Regions from separate parts of the Homo sapiens genome. Here regions 2, 3 and 4 are each linked to region 1. The links are contacts of gene promoters, found by promoter capture Hi-C in blood cells and fetal thymus (Javierre and others, 2016). All regions are on one chromosome and are shown on one strand. Each heading gives the region's core, a stretch centred on a gene start or on the middle of the fragment in contact. The rest is flanking DNA. Distances are from core to core; before and after follow the strand shown.

Region 1 (3,310 bases), core at 457-2,956:
GTATTGCATTTTGCAGGATTTTGTTTTCTTCTTGTCTTTTCTGAGATAGAGTGTTTTCAGATACCAAAAAGAATAATAACCACTGAAAATATAGCTGCTTTTATTACTATAATGCAATGCACTTTTAACTTTTTTCAGTAAATTTCCCTTGCTTCTAATACAATGGAAAAATCTGAGCTATTTATTTATTTTAATTCTGATTGTATGGCTCCTTTATTAGGAAAATAATACGCATTTTCAATGAACAAATTTGCATTGTTGACTAAATAATATTTAAAATTAATATATTGTAATAATTTTGTACTTTAAAATTTAACACTGTATAGATAGGTAAAGAATGTATGAATTTAATTTTTCATAAGATTGGTATGTTTTCATATTAAACTTTTCACCTCCAACATTTACAAATATCTGGAAGTTTTATACTTCTAGAAAGTTAAAGAAAGATGATTCAAATAATGATGGACCCTTCAGTAAGTGGAAAAAGTACATTCGGTAACACTAGCAATCAACCACGCAGCCTACAGAAAAATGATTCACCACCACCCATATGCAGTTTCACCTTAATCTACCACATGTGGAAGATGCTCTCAACTGTGGAAACAGTGTGAATTACAGCCCCATCTTCAGCATAAAAGACATGCATACATACTGTTACACTAGAAAAAAAGGAAGCCTTTTATGGAAGAAAATTACCAATTTTCTTATTTAAGTCTTTTTTTCTTTAAAAATAATTAATGAACACTAGCAGCGTAGCGAGTCTTAAATTTTGCCCTTTCACTTAAAATTTAAACCAAAGCAAATACACTTACCTATTATACCAGATCCTATAATCGAGTTGACAACATTAAAAAGAGCAGCAGACTGACAGGTTTTCTCTTTATACTCATGTTCAGAAACAAGGGTTTCTCTGTCATCTAAATCTCTCTAATAGATAAAATAGCAATTATAAGCAAATACTAGTTCAGAAAATTAGAAAAGTAACAAATATGTAATGCAGGATACTAACACGATTTTCTAGTAATAATAAGTAATGTCACTAATGAAAATAAAATAAATGCCGGGATAACAGTAATAAAGAATAACAATAACAGCTAGTAATTCAACAGAGCTTGGTAAGCAAACTCCATCCTAAAATTTCCAGATTACAGCTGCCCCAGCTGCTAAGTACAGGATCTGTTAGGAATTCAGTGATGTGATTTTGTGAAATTAAAGTGCCTGCTAAGAAAAAAAAAAAAAAAAGTCAGATTAAGGCAAAACTTTTTGTCCCAGAGAACTTTTCGCGGTGCTAAACCAAGAGCCCAGGTGAAGGTAGGTGACCTGACCTGTTGCAAGGTGAATGAAATTTCCGGACAACTGGCTTCAGAACCTGCCTAGTCGCTAGTTTTACCTGCGGCGGGATGACAGGCTCCTGCCTCTGGTAGCCCATGGCTGAGCGGTGGTCCTCAGCAGGTGGAAGATGCTGGGGCTGGGTACGGATTCGCACCCGGCCAGCCTCCTCCGCCACCTCGCACACAGCCGAGGTCCGCGTGTAGCCGCAGAGCTGCAGGGAGCCAGTTCCACGGGCGCCCCCTGCTCCCTCGGCAGGCCGCGAGGGCTGCAGCCCCAAGATCTCTAGGCTGTGGCAGCCTGGGGCGCTTTTCCACCGGAGTTCGCCCAGACAAATGTATTTTTCCTCCGGAGACGGAGATGCTGCAGGATGTTTCTGATCCGGGCAGCCCTGTCTCCCCGCCTCCCCCCTTCACACCCCCGCCTCCCTGAGAGAACAGGGAGAGCTACTCTTCCCTGGAGCTGCAGAGGACAACTTGTTCCACCCACGCTGCCCTGCCCCGATCTCACAGAGTTATGACCGCCTCGTTGCAGTCCGTTCCTAAGTTAGCTTCTCCTTTGCTGGGGTCTGAAGCCCAGGTAAGAACGCAGAAGCACCCTTGGGCCCATGGGCCATCTTCCCTATTAGCACCTCCTCCTCGCTACCCCTCTTCAATGGCAGAGACGACGAGTGAAAATTTGGGACTTTTATTGTAAATGGAAATGGAAAGACTCATAAGAAAATGAATAGCAAAACAAAAAACTTTCCTAGGGTTTTAGCAAACTTGACTACTGAGCATGCTTTGGTCAAACGCTTCCTGGTAACTTTTAGAAAAAGGAGCGATAGAGAAAATGAAGGTGGATTGTTACTGCATTCAGGTAATGAACCTTGAAAAGGGAAAGAGGAGTACAAGGGTTTGGGAAAGGGGTGGCACCTACAGTGCCTGAGCTAGAAAGAATCTTCAATGACCACCTATTCAGTCCTCTTACATTACAGATGAAGCAACAAGCCCAGAGAGTATTCAATATCAGAGACAGAATGCATGAGACAACAGTTTCAGGGGCAATAAGAGCGGTGATATGCCATCATACTTAACAAATTCTGCCTTCCCTTGATATCCATAGGGGATTGGTTCTGGAACCCCTGCAGATACTGAAATCCAGGAATGCTCAGGTCCTTGATAGTAAACAGCATGGTATTTACATGTAACCTAGGCACATCCTCCAGCATACTTTAAATCATCTCTAGATTATTTATAATACCTAATACAATGTAAATGCTATTTACTTGTTGTTATACTGTATTGTTTAGGAAATAAGAAAAAAGTCCATATGTGTTCAGTATAGACACATCCATCCTAGCCCTAACTACATTTTTGATCTGGGATTGGTTTAATGCATGGATGCAGAAGTGGGGATATAGAGGCCAACTGTACCTAATTAAAGAGGTTCTGTTTCATACATGTTTACTTATAATTAAGAAAAAAAATTAAAAACCGTGGGAAAACAAAAGACTTATAAACTTTATATACACTCTGCCATCAAATGTTAACATGCTGTCATATTTTCTTCAAATTGTAAAAGTAAACACAATGTCACAATAGGAACCCCCTTGACCTTCTCCATTCCTTTCCCCAGGCCTTCAGCCCTGGAGTCATCGGTTCATCAAGTTAGTGTTATCTTTGCTATTCATACTTTGTATTTTAATCCGTTCATTTATAGCCATAAACAATATATAACATTGGCTTTTGTATTTTCAACATTTACAAAGATGGTGCCATATTGTACATGTTATTTTTCCACTGGCATTTTTGTTTTCAGCATGTATGATGTAGATATATGCAGATTTTTTTTTCATTTTATCTAACAGTTAAGTCAGCCTTCCCCTACTGAAAGATATTAAGGTTGTTTCTCGTTTTACACTCTTCCAGAGCATAAAAGTGACAATTTCTCTAGATGTAGAAGTGTTAGGTAGTAGGTCATGCACACTTTCAACTTCATT
Region 2 (3,310 bases), core at 400-2,899, 230 kb before region 1:
AAATTAGGAAGCCCTACTTTAGTTAGAAGGGCAAATGTCAAACCTCAAGGTTGTATACATAATATTTATATAAAATTTTCCAAAAAGCATCTCCTAATATCAACTGAAGGGCCTACAAACAATGACACAGCCAGTAGTGCTGAGCCTCCCTGGCCCAAATTGGCTATAAATTCCATTTCCCATTAAAAGAAACCATGATTACTTGAGAATGGTTGATTCTCTGTTGGTATCAAAGAATCTACAAGATAAACTTGGGACATCTAGCCATACTAGAAAGAATGCTATCAAAGTCTACCAGGTTGTGTTAAAAGGACTCAGGAACCAACTTGAGACAGTTTCTACTGGTAAAAATAAGGATAATTTGGACATCATAAAAGTAACTCAATAAACTGAAACATGTCACATGTGTTTAATTTCATATGTTCATAATGATACTAAAAAAAAAAAACTCTTTTTTCACCTTTGTGTTATGCTAGAGAACCAGTCCATTATTTTAAAAACTGATGAAAGGAAATCATCCAACTTTTATTATACCTTTTTCTTTTCTTATTTATTTATTTATTTATTGAGACAGTCTTTTTTTGAATCTCACTCTGTCGCCCAGGCTGGAGTGCAGTGGCGTGATCTTGGCTCACTGCAACCTCTGAGTCCTCGGTTCAAGCGATTCTCCTGCCTCAGCCTCCCAAGTAGCTGGGACTACAGGCATGCATCCCCATGCCTGGCTAATGTTTGTATTTTTAGTAGAGACAGGGTTTCGCCATATTGGCCAGGCTGGTCTCGAACTCCTGGCCTCAGGTGATCCACCCGCCTCGGCCTCCCAAAGTGCTAGGATTACAGGCATGAGCCACCTCATCCAGCCTATTCTACCTTTTTCTGATTGAATTCGACTTATGTAGCAGTCATATAGCTGACACGGAGAACCTTACTTTTTCAGTAATATTGACTGCAATAGACTTTCACCATTTTTCAAATCTTAATTAACTAAGATGTAGACAAAGATCATTGATGGCTAACATCAGAAAAAAATAACTCGTTGTTACATGTTTGCTGATGGAAGTACACAGCAACACTTGTGAAGTATTCTTGCCAAAAAATCTCTCGCCAAAATCTGATCAAGCCTCTAGATTTAACCATCAATTTACAGGAAAGAGAGGGGAAATTTACATTGAAATAAAATTTCAATGACATTGGCAATAAGTTAAACATTAAGTGACACCACAGGAGGCAAACAGTAAAAATCTGAACACGGGAAGCTATAAAACAAATGACCTAGTTTCTTCAATAAATGAGTAGCAAATTTTTCTAAAAGGTTGGAAAAACAATGAGTGGTGATCTGTAAAACTAAAAAAATATTTCTTCTACTAAGCAACATATGGATTTTATGGTAAATCACAATATAATTTCAATAACATTTGACATAAAATATTGTGTATTAAAATTTGTGAGACATAACTAAAGCTAAACTAATAGATAAATATATAGTCTTAAATGCTTTTATTTAAAATACCTGTCTAAGAAAACCAAAATAAATTATGGCAAAATAGGGACTACTTCAGGAAAGGAAAGCTAGTTAACACCAAATAAATACAATAATACAATATGCCTCAATAACATATGAAAGGAAAACTATTTTACAAAGTAAAACTTTTAAATCTGATGATTCAAATATTAAATAAGCAGCATACATTCTGCACAATGAGTTTGACAATGCTAGCAACTAATAATAACGAACACGTAGATAGCACTTTATGGTTAAAGTTTTTTTGCATGCCTAAATGTTTCTTAGAATGACCTTGTGAGGGAAGTATCAAAAGTTATCACTCTGAGCCCTTTTTCTCATTGGAAGATGCTAGCATTTACCCTGCAGGATATATATATATATATATATATATATATATATAAAATGAAAGCAGTGGTATTACTCCATTACGCTCTCAGGAACTATAAGTGAACAGAGAGTTTTCGTAACTTGCACAAAGACAAACAGGCATTAAACAGTAGAACTAAAACTGGTATCCATTTAAAGATTATTTATATTTGTATTATTTTTACATTTGCCACTATTTCAATTTAAGATGGAATACACCGCTTATCGCATATGGATACACAATTAAATTTACTCAGAACAGTAGATGAAAAATTCATATGGTTGTGCAATACAATAAATATAACCAGAATATTTTTTATTTTTTATTTATTTTTTTGAAACGGTCTCACTCTGTCACCCAGTCTGGAGTGCACTGGCAGGGTCATGGCTCACCACAGCCCTGACCTCCCTGGGCTTAGGTGATCCTCCCACCTCAGCCTTCTGAGTAGCTGGGACTACAGGCATGTGCCACCACACCCGGCTAATTTTTGTATTTTTTGTGGAGATGGGATTTTGCCATGTTTCCCAGGCTGGTCGCAAATTCCTAGGCTCAAGCAATCTTCCCACCTTGACCTCCCAAAGTGTTGGAATGATAGGTGTGAGCCACCGTGCCTGGCCCATATGGTTATTTTTGGTGAAGAAATTTTCAGGTACATGGTCATCCTCCACACTAGTTAGCCATTAAGTTTTCACTTAAAGCTCTACATCAGGGATCATAGCAAGTCAGGTTAAACAGTAAGACAAGCAAAGGCTTTAGCTTACTTAGAAAAGCAACTCAAATACTGTAGTTTCCTGTTTCTAGAAGGCAGGCTAAATATAATTGCATGGTAAGTTCTAAGTTTTCAAAATAGTATCAGAAAAAATAAGGAGGCAAGGGTAGTGACAGCATTTGGATTGACCTTGTAGATTCTGATACTGTAAACTTTCTTAATTTTAATATTTCACTCTCTTAAGATTTGTCCACAACATTTCATATTCTAAATAAACCACATCCTTCCATTACTGGAAGGGATATTAGAAATCAGTGCATTCGACAACCTCAAAATGAGGCCAGAAAGTTTATGGAATTTGCTTAGGATTATGCAGATAGAGAGTGGCAAAATTAGGAGTAAAAGTCAAGTACAAGTAATAAAATGTTGTTGCTAGAAAGAACCACAGAGACCACTATTTCTAATCTCCTATTATTATAGAAGTAGAAGGTGAGATTTCACTAACACATAATATATGCAGTTTGTTAAGGCTTGTTTTTTTAGTAGGCTGGTAATTATTAGGGTAATCAATTATTTGAGACTTTTTCTTAATGGGTGAAAAAAGACTTCCACAATTTATTATTGGGCAATTTTTAATACAGTTTTTCTCTATGAAAGGAATGTATGCCCATTATATAATTCTGTATTATAAAGAAAATAAATAATAAAAAAATCACATACCATAACCCTACCA
Region 3 (3,310 bases), core at 294-2,793, 210 kb before region 1:
ATTCCTGAAGGGTTCATCGCCCCAAAGGATTGACAGGCAGGCAAAATTACCATCAAGTTTGATGACTGCTCTAACACAGGTATGCAGATGGTGCAGCTGCGGGTCACAGGAAGAAAACACAACTTTCTTAGGAATCCAGAAATGTCTTACAGATGGGAAACATGAGCTGGGTTTTGGAGAATGAATAGAAACACACAGAAAAAGGCAAGAAATAACTGATATTTTTGGCAGAGGAAAGTTAATAGAACCATAAAAGAAAATGGTAATTTTTGGAATTAAATGGTTTGGTAAAATTGCACAGAGAAGTCAAAAGAGATGAGAAATCAGCGAATCGACTGAAACATTTTATAAGTAAGAGAACTCAGTAAGGTAGGTTGGCACAAAGTTCATATATGAAAGTGTCAATAGCCTACCTAAATATCAGCAAAAACTCATCAGAAAGTACAATGAAAGAAAAAGTAACTTTGGTAATAGCAACAAAAATGAATTTTAAAAAGACTCTCCAAGTATTCCCATCTCAGTCAATCACATTTCTTTCATTTGTCCAGACCAAAAATCCTTGTTCTCATAAACATACATCTAATCCATCTACAAATTCCGCCAGCTCTATATCATAAATAGACCCAGAATCCACCAACCACCTGGATCACCAAATACCTCTGCTCAAGCTGCCAACTGGTGTCCCTGCTCCCAACCTTGTCACTTCATAATCTAGTCTCAACGAAACAACCAGAGTGATCTTTTTAAAATACAAGTTAGAAGACTAAACTTTCAGGGGTCATTTCTATAGTTCATTACTAGAGAAGTTTCTCTGAATGTGTGGAAAAATAAGTCAATAAAATAATAAAATAAAATACAAGTCAGCTCACTGCCTCACTTCTCACATTCTCCAATGGTTTCTTGCCTCAACCAGAAAAGATCTGGAGTGCTATACAAATGTTCCTCTACTTACGATGGGATTACAACCTGATAAATCCACCCTAAATTGAAAATATCAGTCAAAATGTACCAAATACCCCCAATAAACCCATCACAGAATCAGAAAATCATAATTCAAACCATCATAAATCCAGATGTCCCTCAATTTATGACGAGGTTACATTCTGACAAACCCACAATAAAGTTGAAAAATCATACATCAAACCATCGCAAGCAGGAGACCATCTGTAATAGGTCCTTCCTTCCTCCCTTACCTCCGGCCTCTCCAGTCCCCTATCTAACACTTTCTCCCTAGGATCACTGCATTCCAATCTCAGGACTCTTGCCTTTTCCTTGAACACATCCAGAATACCAGGCCCTCTACAGAGTCTGCTCCTGACCTTAACACCCCCATCTCTCTGCTTTACTTTTGGCCACAGGGTTAATGAGCAACATACTTATGTCTCCTTCTGTTAAAGGGTAATTAATTCCATGAGAGTAGGGACTTGTCTCTACCACCTTGTCCACACATTTGCAAATACACAGAATCTCTGGGACCATGCCTGCCATGTAGTAGGCACTGATACTTGCTGAAAGAGTGAATTCAATGACTACTTTCCACAGAAGATGCACTACCTAAGCCTAAAACTGGGAAGGAAAAGAGTCCTTACCACCAAAAAATAAAATGAGCTTTCATTTCAGGATTACTTGTCTGGGATTTTTTTTTTAAAATTAACTGATTATGTTTTATTTTTTACAAGATGAATGAAAAATACACACTGGATTTATTAGCAAGGGATAACTGACAACTTTGTAATTCTGGGGAAGCATTCCCTGTCTACTGCACACTGCAGTGAACTCCTCTCACTCACAGTTTTGATGTCTGTGTGTGACAGTTTTACTTCCTCAGGTAGTTTGTATCTATGATGAAAATCCATCTCTAATCACTATACATAAGCCAATTTCTTTTAAGATGGGGAAAGTAGGACAAAGCGCTACTTGAAAAACCATTCACACAGAACTTTTTTTTTAAGACAGGGTCTGGCTCTGTCACCTAGGCTGGAGTGCAGTGGAACAATCTCAGCTCACTGCATCCTCTATCTCCCAGGTTCAAGCGATTCTTGTGCCTTAGCCTCCTGGGTAGCTGGGACTACAGGCACATGCCCAGCTCATTTTTGTATTTTTACTAGACACCAGGTTTTGCCATGTTGGCCAGGCTGGTCTTGAACTCCTGACTTAAGCAATCCTCCCACCTCAGCCTCCCAAAGTGCTGGGATCACAGGCATGAGCCACCACACTGGGGCATTTACATTAGACTTCTAGGAAAAACATCCTAATGTTCTCAGTTGTTATTTCAATTTAATAATGTATTTGTAACTTTTGTTCCTGAAAAATGGAAAGCAATGTGAATAAGACCAAGATCCTTCCACAGTGAATGTGCAATACAACCGAGAAGATGCAATGCATAATTACATAATACAAAACGAAAAAGAAGGGTCATCAAACAGATGGCAACTTTGAAAATTTAGGTCAGTGAAAGCCAGCTGAGACCAGCTGTGTGTGGTGGGGAGCAGGATCAAGGCATGCTTCAAAGAGAAAAGACAAGAGACTCAGGTCTTGAAAGAAAAGTAGAATTTTGATAAGCAGAGCCTGTAGGGTCAATTATATGTTAGTTCCCAATTGTGATCCATACACATTAAATTTAGGAATGTGTTTATCCAGTTTGCTTACTACATAGTCCAGTCTAGTGAAAAGAATACCAGATGGAAGCCTGGATTTGGCCTGAATCCTAAGTAGCTTTAAGACTTTAACTTATTTGACCTTTTAGTCACCAGCAAAATTTTGAAAATATCTTTTACCTACTCACATTCTCCTAACATTAATTTTTTGGTCAGAGGCTCCGAAGTAATAACAAAATTGTCACCCAAAGTTAAAAGTACAGTGAAAATAATCAAATGTGTGTTATCATCTAAATATAGGAAATTCTGATAATATAAACTAAAGAGAAAAATGTAACATTAACATTCAATAACAACTATACTTAAGAATACTAAGTTTTTAAAATATTTAAATATTTAAAAATCACAGTAACTGCCATTGAAGCCTCCTCACCCCTTTTAAACGGGAATGTTTCAACCAGTTTTCTTATCAAATAGATTTTCACATATGCTTTTCTTCACCGGTGGCCTTGTTTGACTATCAGTCTACTCTTTAGAGGCTTTTCCCCTTAACAGTAAACAACAGCAAATTTCACATAAGGGTAGGTGGAGAGGAGGTTATACTGGAAAGATATTTATAATAAGAAAACTCCCCCACATCAGGGCAAAAATTCATTATTCAAGCTTAAAAATAACAAGCTACAGTAAATTATTGCTTATGCAAATCATTGCTT
Region 4 (3,310 bases), core at 471-2,970, 190 kb before region 1:
ATGTTTGAGTTGCTTCCACTATTTGGCTATTATGAATAATGCTGCTATGAACACTCACATACAAATCTTTGCATATACCCTTTTTTGTATGTGATATGGTTTGGTTCCCTGTCCCCGTTCCAATCTCATGTTGAATTTGTAATCCCCAATGTTGGAGATGGAGCCAGATGGGAGGTGACTGAATCATGGGGGTGGATTTCCCCTTAGTGCCATTCTTGCAATAGTGAGTTCTTGTGAAATCTGGTCATTTAAAAGTGTGTGGCACCTCTTCCCTTTTGCTCTTCCTCCTGCTCCAGCAATGTGAAGTGCTGGCTCCCCCTTGCCTTCTGCCATGATTATAAGTTTCCTGAGGCTTCCCTAGAATCTGAGCAGATGCCAGAATCATGCTTCCTCTACAGCCTACAGAACCATGAGCCAATTAAACCTCTTTTCTTTATAAATTACCCAGTCTCAGGTATTTCTTTATAGCAGTGCGAGAACGAACTAATACAGTATGTCATTCTTAAGACTTCACAGCATAGATATATAGCATGTTCCTAGTACTCTCTGACTACTCCTGCTTTCCTCCATGCACATGGAAATAGTTTAAAGCCACTGGCATTTAAAATTATAATTTACTCGTGAAAGACCAACAGATATTCAAGAACCATAAGCCACACCTATATTACACAAAACACAGCCTTGGACATAAAATTAATTATCCAAGAAATATTTTGATTATGATTAAAACAGTATAATAACCACAAGCCTCTACTTTTCCATTGAGCCATTCTTCCTTCAATTACAGATCAATGGTTTGGTATAAATGTTCAGTATATCATAAGGATAATGAATAAACTAACATGTCTAATAAAGAAAGATGTAGTGGGTACAATGCAGACAGCATAACTGTGTTTAACTTATGTACTGGTTTCACTACGGAAACACAGAGAGGGATGGAATTCTACTCCAAGTGTCGCTTATGCAACAATGGGCAGTTCAAACGTGTACTTTTAAATTCAAACACAAAACTGCATGAATGCTTTTTAATTTTTTTCTCACATATTTAAATAAGTTCATTTTTTGGAAAAATCACTAGAGTTTTAAAACATATAGTTAGAAGAGACACTACCATTATCTTATGGAAAATAGTTTAGGATTAATGATTTAGAAAAATTATCAAAAAAGGAGGCAAATATAACAAAATTCTCTAATATTTCTAGTCAGCAGGTTATAAAAAGGTCAGGTAAAGTGGGAAATCAAAAGTTCATATAACCTCAAACATTCTAACTTAAGATGCACAGATGTAAATTCATTCACTGCTCTTTGATGTAGAGTGAAAGCTTTATTTTTTAAATGTACCCACTGATGGGATTTTCATCCTGTCCTTCTTGCACACATAGCATACAAAGGCTTGCCTTTGATGTTCTCCTTTTCTACGTAGATCAAACATTTCAACACATCTGCAAAATAATTTACATGTAAATTCATTTATTTCATATTTTTATTTCATTATTTTAGTGTCCCATTCAATTATAATTTAATAGCATAATTTTTTGGTTAGGGTAGGTAGCTCACCAAAGATTATTTCTTAAGTACTTAATTTTGCTTTTATGAAAACAGCTCTTCCTGTTTTTACATTGTATGTATATAATATTTTTTAAATTACATTATTAAAATAAGCAATTGTAAAAACAGGCCTTAACAGGTTAAGTAATAGTAAAACAAAATTTTGAAGAAATATAACTGGCATGAGAAGGTGAACTAGAAATTACCCTACTGGTCCTAGCCCCAAACGGTGCAAAGAACAGACTTTCAGCATGTATTACTGAGGGACTGGAAATCTTATCTGAACAAGTCTGTTGACTGAAGTTTAAGAACTTCTACAGGTCACTAGATGCAGGATTGCTGGAGAACTGTGATCCATACACTGACAAACCTTTAAGAAATCATGACCTGAAACTTGATTTTTTTTTAGTTTGTCCAAACAAGTGCAGGCCAAGCAAAAGCAACCACCTGCTACTCCTTAATTTATTACACAATTTGTAAGAAAGGCAGTAGAAAATGAGAATACTGTGGATAGATCACATGCACCAGAAATAATACAAATGATTCTCTCAATAAAATAATAATCTAAGCCAAGCTTGTCCAACCTGTGGCCTGCAGGCCACATGCAGCCCAGGATGGTTTTGAATGTGGCCCAACACAAATTCGTAAACTTTCTTAAAACATTATGAGATTTTTTTTTTTTAGCATATCAGCTACTGTTAGTATATTTTATGTGTGGCCCAAGACAATTCTTTTTCTTCCAATGTGGCCCACGAAAGCCAAAAGATTGGACACCTTTGAATTAAGATATAAATACAGAAGCATAGCTTTCCAGAAACCATTTTTATTCATCTATAGAAATAATCCCTCTTATCTGGGGAAGAAATGATCCAGAACCATCTTATGTCTATTAGTTAAATGCCTCCTATCATATATCCCTTAGTAAATCACTTGATAAAAAGAAATTTTAAAAATCTACTGTAAATCTTATTAGTGTCATCAGAATTGAAAAATCACAATTAAATTTAAAGATAAGTAATATGTATTGACAAACGACATTTCTAAAAATCTCCGTGAAAGCACTGGCCTTCCTATTTCCTTAACTATTTTTAGGTATATTTGTATTGCAAGCACACGATGGCACACTAAGCAAAGAAATCTGTTTACACACTAAATGTTTCCATACAAGCAACAATATGCAAATGGCTTATTGTAAATGTTCACAATTCTTAGTGATTAATTCAGATTAGCAAGTTCATATTAGCGAATGGAAGCTGACTGAGTCCAGGCACCTTAACTCTCTGGTTTAATGCTGTGTCTTGAAGCATCTAGAATATTTATTGGAACAAAGAAGATGCTCAATAAAACATGGTTGAATGATTTCTCTTTCAGATACACACATACTCTACCATGTGTTCAAACATTTTCCTAATTTTGAAAAAAAAATCTCGTTTCTTAAAAGCATGCGGGGTTAGAATTTTTAATGTATTTAGTGTGAAATAACAGTTCCTTTCAGCATTTGACCCTGATTCATAGAAAACAAGAACCTGCACAAAGAATAAATTATCCTCAGCCATTCAACAATCAGGCTGTCTTCTAGCAATGTATAAAAATAACCAAGCTGTAGGGTTGCTAAACATCTATATTCCATGAAAATCATTTTCTTCTTCCCATCTATTGTAGAGACATTTGCCTTTTACCTTCAGACTGGTGGTTTGGCAACTCTACCAAATACATCATTTTATATATATTATCCCCAGTCATCAGTAAATAAGAATATATT

What was found. Contacts are between HindIII fragments. The CHiCAGO score rates a contact against its expected background, and 5 or more counts as called.
Region 2: a contact is called between a fragment that was not itself captured here and the fragment with the promoter of SLC38A11 in region 1, in 2 of 17 cell types (naive B cells and M0 macrophages). The highest score is 5.5, in naive B cells.
Region 3: a fragment that was not itself captured here is called in contact with the fragment with the promoter of SLC38A11 in region 1 in 3 of 17 cell types (total B cells, naive B cells and M1 macrophages); the score reaches 7.9 in total B cells.
Region 4: a contact is called between a fragment that was not itself captured here and the fragment with the promoter of SLC38A11 in region 1, in 1 of 17 cell types (total B cells). The highest score is 5.0, in total B cells.

What each region holds. Positions count from the first base shown.
Region 1 is chr2:164,953,819-164,957,128 of GRCh38, forward strand. It overlaps SLC38A11 (solute carrier family 38 member 11), which reads right to left and starts at 1,707. Exons shown (of 12, transcript NM_001351537.2): 1 at 1,391-1,707; 2 at 813-927. The coding sequence starts at 1,429. The HindIII fragment of the contact is 8,780 bases long and covers 1-3,310 here.
Region 2 is chr2:164,723,234-164,726,543 of GRCh38, forward strand. All of the region lies in intron 5 of COBLL1 (cordon-bleu WH2 repeat protein like 1), which reads right to left. Among named protein-coding and RNA genes, the nearest start is that of SNORA70F, 37 kb to the left of the region's middle. The HindIII fragment of the contact is 4,319 bases long and covers 1-3,310 here.
Region 3 is chr2:164,745,553-164,748,862 of GRCh38, forward strand. The region is part of intron 2 of COBLL1 (cordon-bleu WH2 repeat protein like 1); the gene reads right to left. It also overlaps the pseudogene LOC124906197. Among named protein-coding and RNA genes, the nearest start is that of SNORA70F, 59 kb to the left of the region's middle. The HindIII fragment of the contact is 3,429 bases long and covers 1-3,258 here.
Region 4 is chr2:164,766,199-164,769,508 of GRCh38, forward strand. All of the region lies in intron 2 of COBLL1 (cordon-bleu WH2 repeat protein like 1), which reads right to left. Among named protein-coding and RNA genes, the nearest start is that of COBLL1, 74 kb to the right of the region's middle. The HindIII fragment of the contact is 800 bases long and covers 1,321-2,120 here.